Linked DNA regions of Homo sapiens: all the other regions are linked to region 2. The links are contacts of gene promoters, found by promoter capture Hi-C in blood cells and fetal thymus (Javierre and others, 2016). All regions are on one chromosome and are shown on one strand. The core of a region is centred on a gene start or on the middle of the fragment in contact, and the rest is flanking DNA. Distances in the headings are between cores, read along the strand shown. Region 1 holds the start of GTF3C1 (general transcription factor IIIC subunit 1). Region 2 holds the start of VPS35L (VPS35 endosomal protein sorting factor like). Region 3 holds the start of LOC105371093 (a long non-coding RNA gene).

Evidence for each region. Contacts are between HindIII fragments. The CHiCAGO score rates a contact against its expected background, and 5 or more counts as called.
Region 1: the fragment with the promoter of GTF3C1 here is called in contact with the fragment with the promoter of VPS35L in region 2 in 1 of 17 cell types (fetal thymus); the score reaches 5.6 in fetal thymus.
Region 3: a fragment that was not itself captured here is called in contact with the fragment with the promoter of VPS35L in region 2 in 3 of 17 cell types (total CD8 T cells, fetal thymus and naive CD8 T cells); the score reaches 9.3 in total CD8 T cells.

Annotation. Positions count from the first base shown.
Region 1 is chr16:27,548,180-27,551,484 of GRCh38, reverse strand. GTF3C1 (general transcription factor IIIC subunit 1) reads left to right here and starts at 1,572. Exons shown (of 37, transcript NM_001520.4): 1 at 1,572-1,815. The coding sequence starts at 1,595. It overlaps KATNIP (katanin interacting protein), which reads right to left and starts at 1,341. Exons shown (of 28, transcript NM_015202.5): 1 at 1,308-1,341. The coding sequence starts at 1,314. RefSeq lists enhancers at 1,476-1,585, 1,596-1,675. The HindIII fragment of the contact is 1,688 bases long and covers 959-2,646 here.
Region 2 is chr16:19,553,974-19,557,257 of GRCh38, reverse strand. VPS35L (VPS35 endosomal protein sorting factor like) reads right to left here and starts at 1,555. Exons shown (of 31, transcript NM_020314.7): 1 at 1,512-1,555. The coding sequence starts at 1,528. RefSeq lists enhancers at 871-1,100, 959-1,921, 1,481-1,960. The HindIII fragment of the contact is 7,423 bases long and covers 774-3,284 here.
Region 3 is chr16:13,923,843-13,926,952 of GRCh38, reverse strand. ERCC4 (ERCC excision repair 4, endonuclease catalytic subunit) reads right to left here. Exons shown (of 11, transcript NM_005236.3): 3 at 197-392. It overlaps LOC105371093 (a long non-coding RNA gene), which reads left to right and starts at 347. Exons shown (of 4, transcript XR_007065000.1): 1 at 347-428. The HindIII fragment of the contact is 2,829 bases long and covers 296-3,110 here.

The DNA.
Region 1 (3,305 bases), core at 323-2,822, 8.0 Mb before region 2:
ACAGGGGTCCCAAGGCTTAAAAGGTTTGAGGACTGATGTTCTATAGCAACATTACATTGACCTTTCCAGAAGGCAAAATGGTAAAGCACATTTTATAGTACCTCTAAAGTACAAAGGGAAAAGATATATTTTAAGCATATGACAGAATGTTCAATTAAAAACATTTTCTCCACACTACATTCAGTGAATATAAAAAGAATGTGGATTCCCCAGGAACAAATTCCCGAGAAGTGAGGGACAGTGCTGTAATTAGAAAAATGATCTGGACTCTAGCCCAGACCCTACCAGTCTCTCTAGACTTTAGTCTTCCCATCTGCAAAGTGAGATATCAGAATAGCCTATTTTCCATTTGCTTCCAATTGTCAATACCATGACTCTAATCAGGGATCCCTAAATGGGGGCCCACAAGCTGTCTCTGGCCTTCAGAGTGACTGGCCAACCCTGTTTTTGAGAAGTACCCCAAGAGGACAATCAGCTGGTGCTTGGTGAGCAGCTTTCCTTTCAGGTGAGGAATTGATTTTCAGTTACAGCCTCAATCCGGCTCACTAGACTCTCCTCTGCAGACATCTGCATTTACAACCTCTGGAATAAAGGGACCCTCAAAACCGGTCCAAATCTCAAGCTCCATAATTCAGCTCCAGAGACAGGGTGTCTGGGTTTCTCACTCACTCTGCTACATGCTGGTTGTTTGACTTTGGGCAAGTTCCTTAACACCTCTGAGCCTCAGTTTCATCATCTGTAAAATGGAACAACGCTGAACTCAAAAGGCTGGTATGAAGCTTAGCGAGGTGTTGCCCAAGAGTACTTACAGAGTTCTTGGTACTGGAAAGCACTTTGTTAAAGGGAGCTATTATTATTAACGCCAAGGCACAGAAAGGGAGTATTTCCTAAACTCCCTTCACCCCCCACACCAATTCCCTTTCCCAGCACCTGACGATTGCACTCCCACGATCAAGCTTGTTTTCATATCAACTCCCAAATCCGACAGTTCCACATCCCAACATTCACAAGACCCTCCTCAGACCTCTACTTCTCCTTCCCCACCCTACATCCCTTCACTGAGCTCCCGGCCAGTACCGGTTTCCTTCACGACCACAGCCGAGCAGAATGGTCACAGCACTGACCACTCCCCCAGGCTCTCCTCCGCGTTCCAGACCACTAAGCCTCCCTATCCCTCATTTCGGAGACCCCCTTGGGTCAGGAAGTGGTGGTCCAGGGGTTCATGGCCTAGGATTCTGCCCAAAGCGCGGTCGGGAGGGATGGGAGAATAACAGCCCGACCTCCCGGAGGGGCCCACAGACACTCACCGTCCATCCCTAGAGGCGGCGGTTCCGGGAGCTCGAACCGGAAGCGGCCTCTACACTGTTTGCAGTTCCCCTGGTTACTGCGGGGCCCCGGACCAATGACGGTGGAGCTCCACTTACTGAGCCCGCCCCCGGGGAGTGACGTCATGCCGGCGCGCTGGAACTCCTCCTCCGAACCCTGGGTCTGACCCACCTCCCCGGGCCCCGGATCGTTGTGCGCAGGCGCGATGGACCAAGGCCCTTGGCGGTGCGTTGCGCATGCGCCCCGGGCGCCGCCGACTGAAGTAGCAATGGACGCGCTGGAGTCGTTGTTGGACGAAGTCGCTCTGGAGGGGCTCGATGGCCTGTGTCTGCCAGCGCTGTGGAGCCGGCTGGAGACGCGAGTGCCGCCCTTCCCGCTGCCTTTGGAACCCTGCACGCAGGAGTTTCTCTGGCGGGCCCTCGCCACGCACCCGGGCATCAGCTTCTATGAGGAGCCTCGGGAGCGACCCGACCTACAGCTCCAGGACCGGTCAGCGGGCGGCCTGGCCTGGCGGGCGGGCGGGCGGGCGCAGGGCCCGGGGGCTGATGGAGCTGGGGGCAGGGCGGGGGAATGGAGTGGGGCTGTGCAAGTACCGGAGGCCTGTTGATTGAGTTGGGGCACGGCGGTAAGGCTAATCTGGGGTCCCTCAGGCCTGGCAGGGCCCTGGAGTCCGATGGAGTTGGCGGGGGGAGGGGGAGAATCTAGTGATGTCCCGTTTTGTCCCTGTGTGTGTTTTGGGGTAATGGCGAACAGGATTGGGGATATTCTTCAGGCTTAAAAGAATGTTTCCTTTACATTGGAGGATAGGATTAGAGCAGGAAAGACACTTTAGAGCCAGACTGGAGACTCCTGAGATCAACAGACCCTCATGGTATATTCATTCGGTGCAGATAGCCTAGGGCAACTCGAGATCTGCGTATCAGGACAATTAGCGATAATGCTAAAAGCTGACATTTATCAGGGACTTCATGGGTGAGGTGCTGTTCTTTTTTTTCTTTTTTGAGATAGAGTCTCTCTCTGTGGCCCAGGCTGGAGTGCAGTGGCGCGATCTTGGCTCACTGCAACCTCCGTCCGCCTCCCAGGTTCAAGCGATTCTCGTGCCTCAGCCTCCTGAGTAACTGGGATTACAGGCATGTTCCACCACGCCCGGCTAATTTTTGCATTTTTAGTAGGTATGGGGTGTCATCATGTTGGCCAGGCTGGTCGCGAACTCCTGACCTCAGACAATCCGCACCTCTCGGCCTCCCAAAGTGCTGTGATTACAGGCGTGAGCCACGGCGCCCGGCCACATTGCTGTTCTAAGAATCTATTCTAGAAGCTTTAGGAGCTTAAACTCACTTGATCCTCACTTGATTAAACTCCGTTAAACAGGAGATTAAATTCACTTGATCCTCACCTATGAGGTAGGTGCTGTTATCGTCCTCATTTTACAGAGGAAGACACTGAGTCACAGAGAGGGATTATGTAACCTAAGGTTCTGGGGGCAATAAGTGACTAAGAATTGATTTGAACCCAGGCTATTTTCAGCGTCTGTGCTCTTAAGCCATATTGTGAGGGTCAGGGGAGGTTCCAAGAGGTAATAATGTCCAAGACAGGCCGGGTGCAGCAGCTCATGCCTGCAATCCCAGTACTTTGGGAGGCTGAGGTGGATGGGTCACAAGGTCGGCAGTTCAAGACCCGCCTGACCAACGTGGTGAAACCCTATCTCTACTAAAAATACAAAAATTAGCCTGGCGTGGTGGCGCATGCCTGTATCCCAGCTACTCAGGAGGCTGAGGCAGGAGAATCACTTGAACCTGGGAGACAGAGGTTTCAGTGAGCTGAGATTCAGCCATTGCACTCCAGCCTGGGTGACAGAGTGAGACTCTGTCTCAAAAATAAAATAAAATAATGTTCGAGACAAAACTTAAAGGTTGGATTTAGGCAGCCAGTTGGCAAAGAGGACTGTTGGACAGAGAACAGCAAATGTGAAGTAAGTG
Region 2 (3,284 bases), core at 306-2,805:
CAGCATCTTCCTGGATTTTCTGATTGCAAACTTCAGATAAATCCACTGAAGTCAAATGTTTCTCATGTTTTTGGTTAGCTTTTTGGTCAAGCCAGCATGACTTTTTCATTTTTTATTATTATTTTTTTGAGACAGAGTCTCACTGTTGCCCAGGCTGGAGTGCAGTGGCATGATCTCGGTTCACTCCAGCTTCCGCCTCCCAGGTTCAAGCGACTCTCCTGCCTCACCCTCCCAAGTAGCTGGGATTACAGGTGCGTGCCACCACTAATTTAGCCCAGCTAATTTTTGTATTTTTAGTAGAGATTAGGTTTCGCCATGTTGGCCAGGCTGGTCTCGAACCCCTGACCTCAGGTGATCCGCCAGCCTCGGCCTCCCAAAGTGCTGGGATTACAGGCGTGAGCCACCATACCCAGCCAGCATGACTATTAACTGAAAAAAAAAAAAAAACCTCAGGGTGTGGAAGTGCTCAGAGGCATTCAATGCTGATGTAGCGTGTCAAGGAAGCAGTCTCTTAAGTGTTGGGCAAATGAAAGGAATAAGACAAAATGAAGTGTTTATCAAGCTCAAAAGCAGAAGGTTGTACCTGATTATTTCTAAGGTCTTTCATTTGCTCATTTAATCTAAGCTACTTCACATCATTTGAAGAGAAAGTAAATTATCTCGCTTTCTGAGATGCAGGAGAGATTCCCCGTCCCCAAATCCCACTATCATCAACAACACAACTTCCTCAAGTTCTTCACTCACACACATACCACCTGCTGAACCCTGAAGCTTCAGTCACTCATTCCTAGCTACTCCAACCACAAGGGACCTACGGGCCTGCCAACCAGGCACACGCCACGCCCTCCCTATGGTGGACTCCTATTCATCCTCCAAGACCCAATTTAACTCCTCCTCTCTGAAGCCTTCCCCTAGCCCCCTGGTGGGGATAATCACTCCCTTCTTGGTGCCTCATCCGAATGCCTTCTTTAGACATCCCTCTACTGTGCGTCTGCCCCATTATACTGTCAGCTCCTTGAGGCCAAGGAATAAGTCTGAGGGCTGTGCCTAGGATAGGATGAATGGCGGCCATTTTACAGATGAGAAAAGCAAGTCTCCAGGTGAACAGAGGAGCTGAGGAAACTGACCAACAGCCAGATCTCCCGACTCGTCCAGACTTTAAAAGCTGAGTCCACCATTACCCTCATCCAGCGACCCCAGAACCCGCGCCAACTTCTGGGGACGCGGAAGCCTGGAAACTCAAGTTTTCTTTAGGGAATGAATGGACAGGGGCCCGTGGAAGGCGCAGAGAGGCAGCAGACGGGGAGAGAACCAAGAACCCGCCAGTCTGGCTTCAGATTGCTCCGCTGGACCGCGGTAGCGGCCAGGGATTCTACGGTCAAGACAACTTGGGGGTGGCCGGTCGACCACCAGAACCCGACAGAGAGGAATTCACACTCTCAGACCCAGGCCGACCCCATCACAAGTAAGGACAGCCCCTCTCCAAAGCCCACCCGCCGCTGCTTCCTTACCAAGGAAAGACGGCCATCTTCCCAGTCACATGACCGCTTGTTCTGGGGCCGTCTGCTCGGCTTCCCATCCTTACCCCGCCACTCCCCGCACCCCTCGGCCGCCATGTTTGTGAAGGGCAGCTGGCCGCCCCGCAGCGGCCGCACAGCACCTTCTGCAGACGCCATGCTTGTGAGGGGCAGGCGACGCTCCGCACAGCACAGGCTTCATTTTCAGCTGACGCCATGCTTGTGAGGGGCAGCTCCCCGCTCCGGACAGCCCGGGTTACAACTCCCGCCGGCGCCATGCTTCGGAGGAGCAACGTCGGCCACGGCCAGAGTGCCGTAGTTTCTATGAGTCATGATTGTAAAGGGCAGCTGTCTACAGTGCCGGGTGGTCCCGCCTGCGGGCGTCATGATGGTAAAGGGCATGACTGCTGCTTAGCTCACCTGCGTCCTCTAGGGGCAGAAAGGACTCCAGAAGGCGGCGGAGCGAAGACGCAAACTGAGGTTCAGCCAGTACCTGGTTTTGCGGCTAATACGCTGTTTGGCGTGGGACAGCCATGCCCCCTCTAGGCCGCTGCTTTACCCACTGCTTTGCGGGCGGTTTTAGACACTTGCAGAATGCCCTTCCCACGACTAGCAACCGAGGGCTGCCCTAGATCTAATATGATTGACTACAGCTAATGCACGTGGGGAAATTAGGGTTCGCATTTCGTCCAACTTGGCAAAGCAGTGTTTCTAGGAAGGTGGATATCCATTTCGACCACAGAACGTTTTTAAAAATTATTTTAGGCCGGGAGCGGTGGCTCAGGCCTATGATCCCAGAACTTCGGGAGGCCGAGGTGGGTGGTTCACCTGATGTCAGGAGTTCGGGACCAGCCTGGCCAACATGGTGAAACCCCGTCTCTACTAAAAAATACAAAAACTAGTTGGGTATGGTGGCGGGCGCCTGTAATCCCAGCTACTCGGGAGGCTGAGGCAGGAGAATTGCTCCAACCCGGGAGGATGAGGTTGCAGTGAGCCGAGATTGCGCCATTGCACTCCAGCCTGGGCTACAAGAGCGAAACTCCATCTCAAAAAAAAATTTTTTTTTTAATTATTACTTTTATAACTTACTTAGATATCCATTATGGTCCCTTAGAGAGAAAGCATTCGATGTTTTTATAACTCTTACTTTTCATTCGGGGGTGGTGGTCTGTGGTTGTTCATGAGATGGTGACCTATGACAGGGAAAAGGATCATCTCCAGAACGGGCCCTCCAGTGTTCAGCTCAGTATGAGTAGGAAAGTATATCCACTCGTACCTGCTATTCCCAACACTGGAAGTGAACAAGGGTTAAAGGGTGGCCACGGGAAAGCAAGGAGCTCTTCCCATACAGCCATGCATGTTATCACATGCAACATCTCAATAAGAGGTCAAGGTGAGGAGCCTTTTCCTAGGCTCACACTGCATGATTAGGCAGTAACAAGAGGAGGATTCTTAAAGTTGTGCAAATTAACAGCTTTGATGTGAGCTTCAACCTTCGCATTCTCTTTTCTCCCTCTCCTTCCCTTAGCAGGCTTCTATCTCTTAATAAGTTAAGACATTTCCAGCCTGAGTTTTACCTTCTGAAAAGTCCAACTTTTAGTAGAGACGGGGTTTCACTATGTTGGCCAGGCTGGTCTCAAACTCCTGACCTCAGGTGATCCTCCCGCCTTGGCCTCCCAAAGTGTTGGGATTACAGGCGTGAGCCACTGCACCTGGCCCAGGGGACATATTAAATAATGAGATATATCTTTCATGGAACTTGTAAAG
Region 3 (3,110 bases), core at 461-2,960, 5.6 Mb after region 2:
CTTAAATAAAACCACAAACTTGGTGAATACATATTTATAGCTGGATGTGTTTGTTATAAAACTGACTAGGTTCTATCAAACAAAATTACAATGAATTTTACATTATATTACATCAAAGTGCAACTAAGTTACAGTAGATCTCACAAACAAAGATGACAAATAATGTCATCATTATTTGTCACATAATGTTCTTTACCTTGGCCACAGATACAGTTTCCTCACAAAAAGATTTCTCATCACTCTTTCCACATGACAAAAACCAGTATCAAAGGCAACAGCATTGTCTGTGAAAGCTTTAATAAAACCACGTTTGTTTTTCTGGCGAAAGAGGCGCAAGATGAATGCTTCTTGACAAGACTCGATTATTCTGTGGGCTCTATACACCAAGATGCCTGAGGGGGAGAAACATAATTTAAACTACAGAACAGGTAGGTAATTGCCATTCATTCATCACATTTTTCTTAAGTACTTACAAGAGAATGAATAAGCACCATTCTAGACTGGGCATATAGCCACGCACAGAACAGAGATAAATCCCTGTCCTCAAGGAATTGACTATAAACAATATAAATACGTAAAATATTTAGGATGCTACAAGTGCTGAGAAGAAAAAATGAATCAGAGAAGGAGGAGAGGGAGTATGTATGAGGGGTGGTCTCACCAAGGTGGTATCTGAATAAAGGCTGGATGGAGCCTTGTGACCATCTGGGCCAAGAGAGTTCCAGGCTGCCAGGCTGAGGGGACAGTGAGGGCACAGGCCCTGGGGTGGGGTGTTTCTGGCATGTCAGAGGAAGAATTTCTGAAAGCAAAGTAGGTCATGAATTTTTTTTTTTTAATGTATGAATCAGATGTGGACTATACAAAATAGCCACATTTTAGAAGTCTGGGCAACATCTACATTACCTATGAGATGAATTCAATTTTCAGAATCAGAAGATAGTCAATTCAGAGGTAAATTAGTCCATTTAAAACAAAAACCTTCAATCGACATACTTATACATGTCTTTGGGGGTGTACATGATTATAACACCTCAGCATCTCAAAAATAAGAACAATTATACATGCTTTGTTATTTATGAAATGAGACTACTGACCCAGATCTTTCATATATATTGTGTCATCTGATGCAGTGTGATTAGTGCTAAGTTAGGGAGAAACATGAGATGACATAAAGGCATACAGACATGCTTTCTAGATCAAAACCACAATTACTCCAAGACGAGTCTGTCTTTTAGACCTAAATCAAGCTGGTTACCTTATATATATTTGGCATAATGGTACTTGCATGCTTTTGATCCAGTTCTCATATCTGGAAGGGTATGGACAATAATACTAACAGTGATTTATGACCCTTCTAATAGTTCAATAAACTAAACTCAGATTTTACTATTTTAATGTTTAAGTTTTGGATAGAGGTGGATGGAGCTAAATTTACTCTAGCTCAGCAAATTATCTTCCAAATATAGTAAAAATTAATAATGTTATTTAGGAATTCATAGACAAAGGATTTTCAATAACCCCCCCAATACACGTACATAACTAATTTACTACTCAGAAAATATTCTGTACCTAATTGGTGGGTTTTCCCAAGGACTCTAAGAGGCCACATTTTGTTAGCCTGGATTGAAATATTACGTAGAGTCAAGAATAATAAAAATGAACTTCCAAAGAAAAGGAGAAACTCAATTTAAGAAAATGTTGCGCTCCAAAAAGTTGTCTTTATTTTGGTTGGAACCCAGGAGGAAGAAGAGAACTGATACTACATCCCAGGTAACTGGGTTAGGTGTTTCTATAGATTTTCATTTCATTTAATTGTTATGATAATTCCATGCAGTAGGTATCATGATGAGACCAAGGAAGGGAAGCAACTTAACCAAGGTCATCCAGCAAGCAAGTGGGAGGCCGAAGGTTCCAAATCATGTGTAAAATCATGTTATTCCTATTTAGTCACACCAACTCAAGACACTCCTTTTTCAAAAAATAAAAATAATAGAAGCAGGTTAGGTTTTTGGGAGGAGTTTTAGCTCCACAAAAGCCTACTTTAGTTTTTTTTGTTCCTATGACATTTTGTACCCATACTGTACTATAACTACTTCTTTACTTGTCTCCTCCATTAAACTGCCCGAGAACAGGAACATCGTAACACCAACAGGCAGAGATCACAGAGATCATAGAATGCTGACTATGTGCCATGCTACCAAGTATTTTACATATAAGCATTTCATTTCACCCTGACAATCCTAGGAGGAAGGTACTATCTTTATCACCAATGTACGGGTGAGTAAGCTGAGGCATAGAGAAATTAAGAAACTTGCCTAAAAATACACAGCTGGTGCAAGATGAAGATAACTCAAACCCAGAAGCAGTCTAACTCACGAGTTCACCATACTGTCCCATTCATCTGTCTATCTTCAGCACCCTTCCTGCCAAACAAGGGACCCTTAGTGAGTTAAATATTTGTTGAATGAATATAAAGTGGAGGCACAGCACTGGGTACACAAATCAAAAGTGTAACTGAAAAATACATATATATTTCCCAGAAAGTGTGTTCTTAGTTCTGTCTGGAGATGTCAGGGTCAGTTTTGGCAATGAAAGCATCCTCCTGTCCTGTTCTTTTCAAGGTACAACCTCACCAGATATTTATATAGTTCTCCCACGTGTTAGGAGTTCTGGTTAGCAGGGATTCCCAGGGTGGGGTGTGGTGGTAATAATGGGTGGTGACAGGTGAAGAAGTTGGGGCTGGGGGATTCAGCCTTTCCAGAGGGTTACCTGCACTTCACGCACTGCTCTTTGGTCAGTCCTGGGGGATGATCCCAGGGGATGAAAGAATTCAAAAGAATTCATTTTTGGCATTCATTTACATTCCACTCAGCCAAGCATCAGTAACAGCTCCAGCTTCATTATTCGGTGGGCTTTGATCAGAAAGGAGGAGGGAATTTGGCATTTTTCATTAGGAGCTACAGATAAGCCAGACTTCAACGTTGCATAAATTCACATTGCTCTCTGCCTAATTAGGTTGCACTGTAACTGAAAGTCACAGGATATTACTGACACCTAGTGGTAGTTTTAAACACAACAAAAAAATTTTTTTAAATCAATTTAAAAAATAA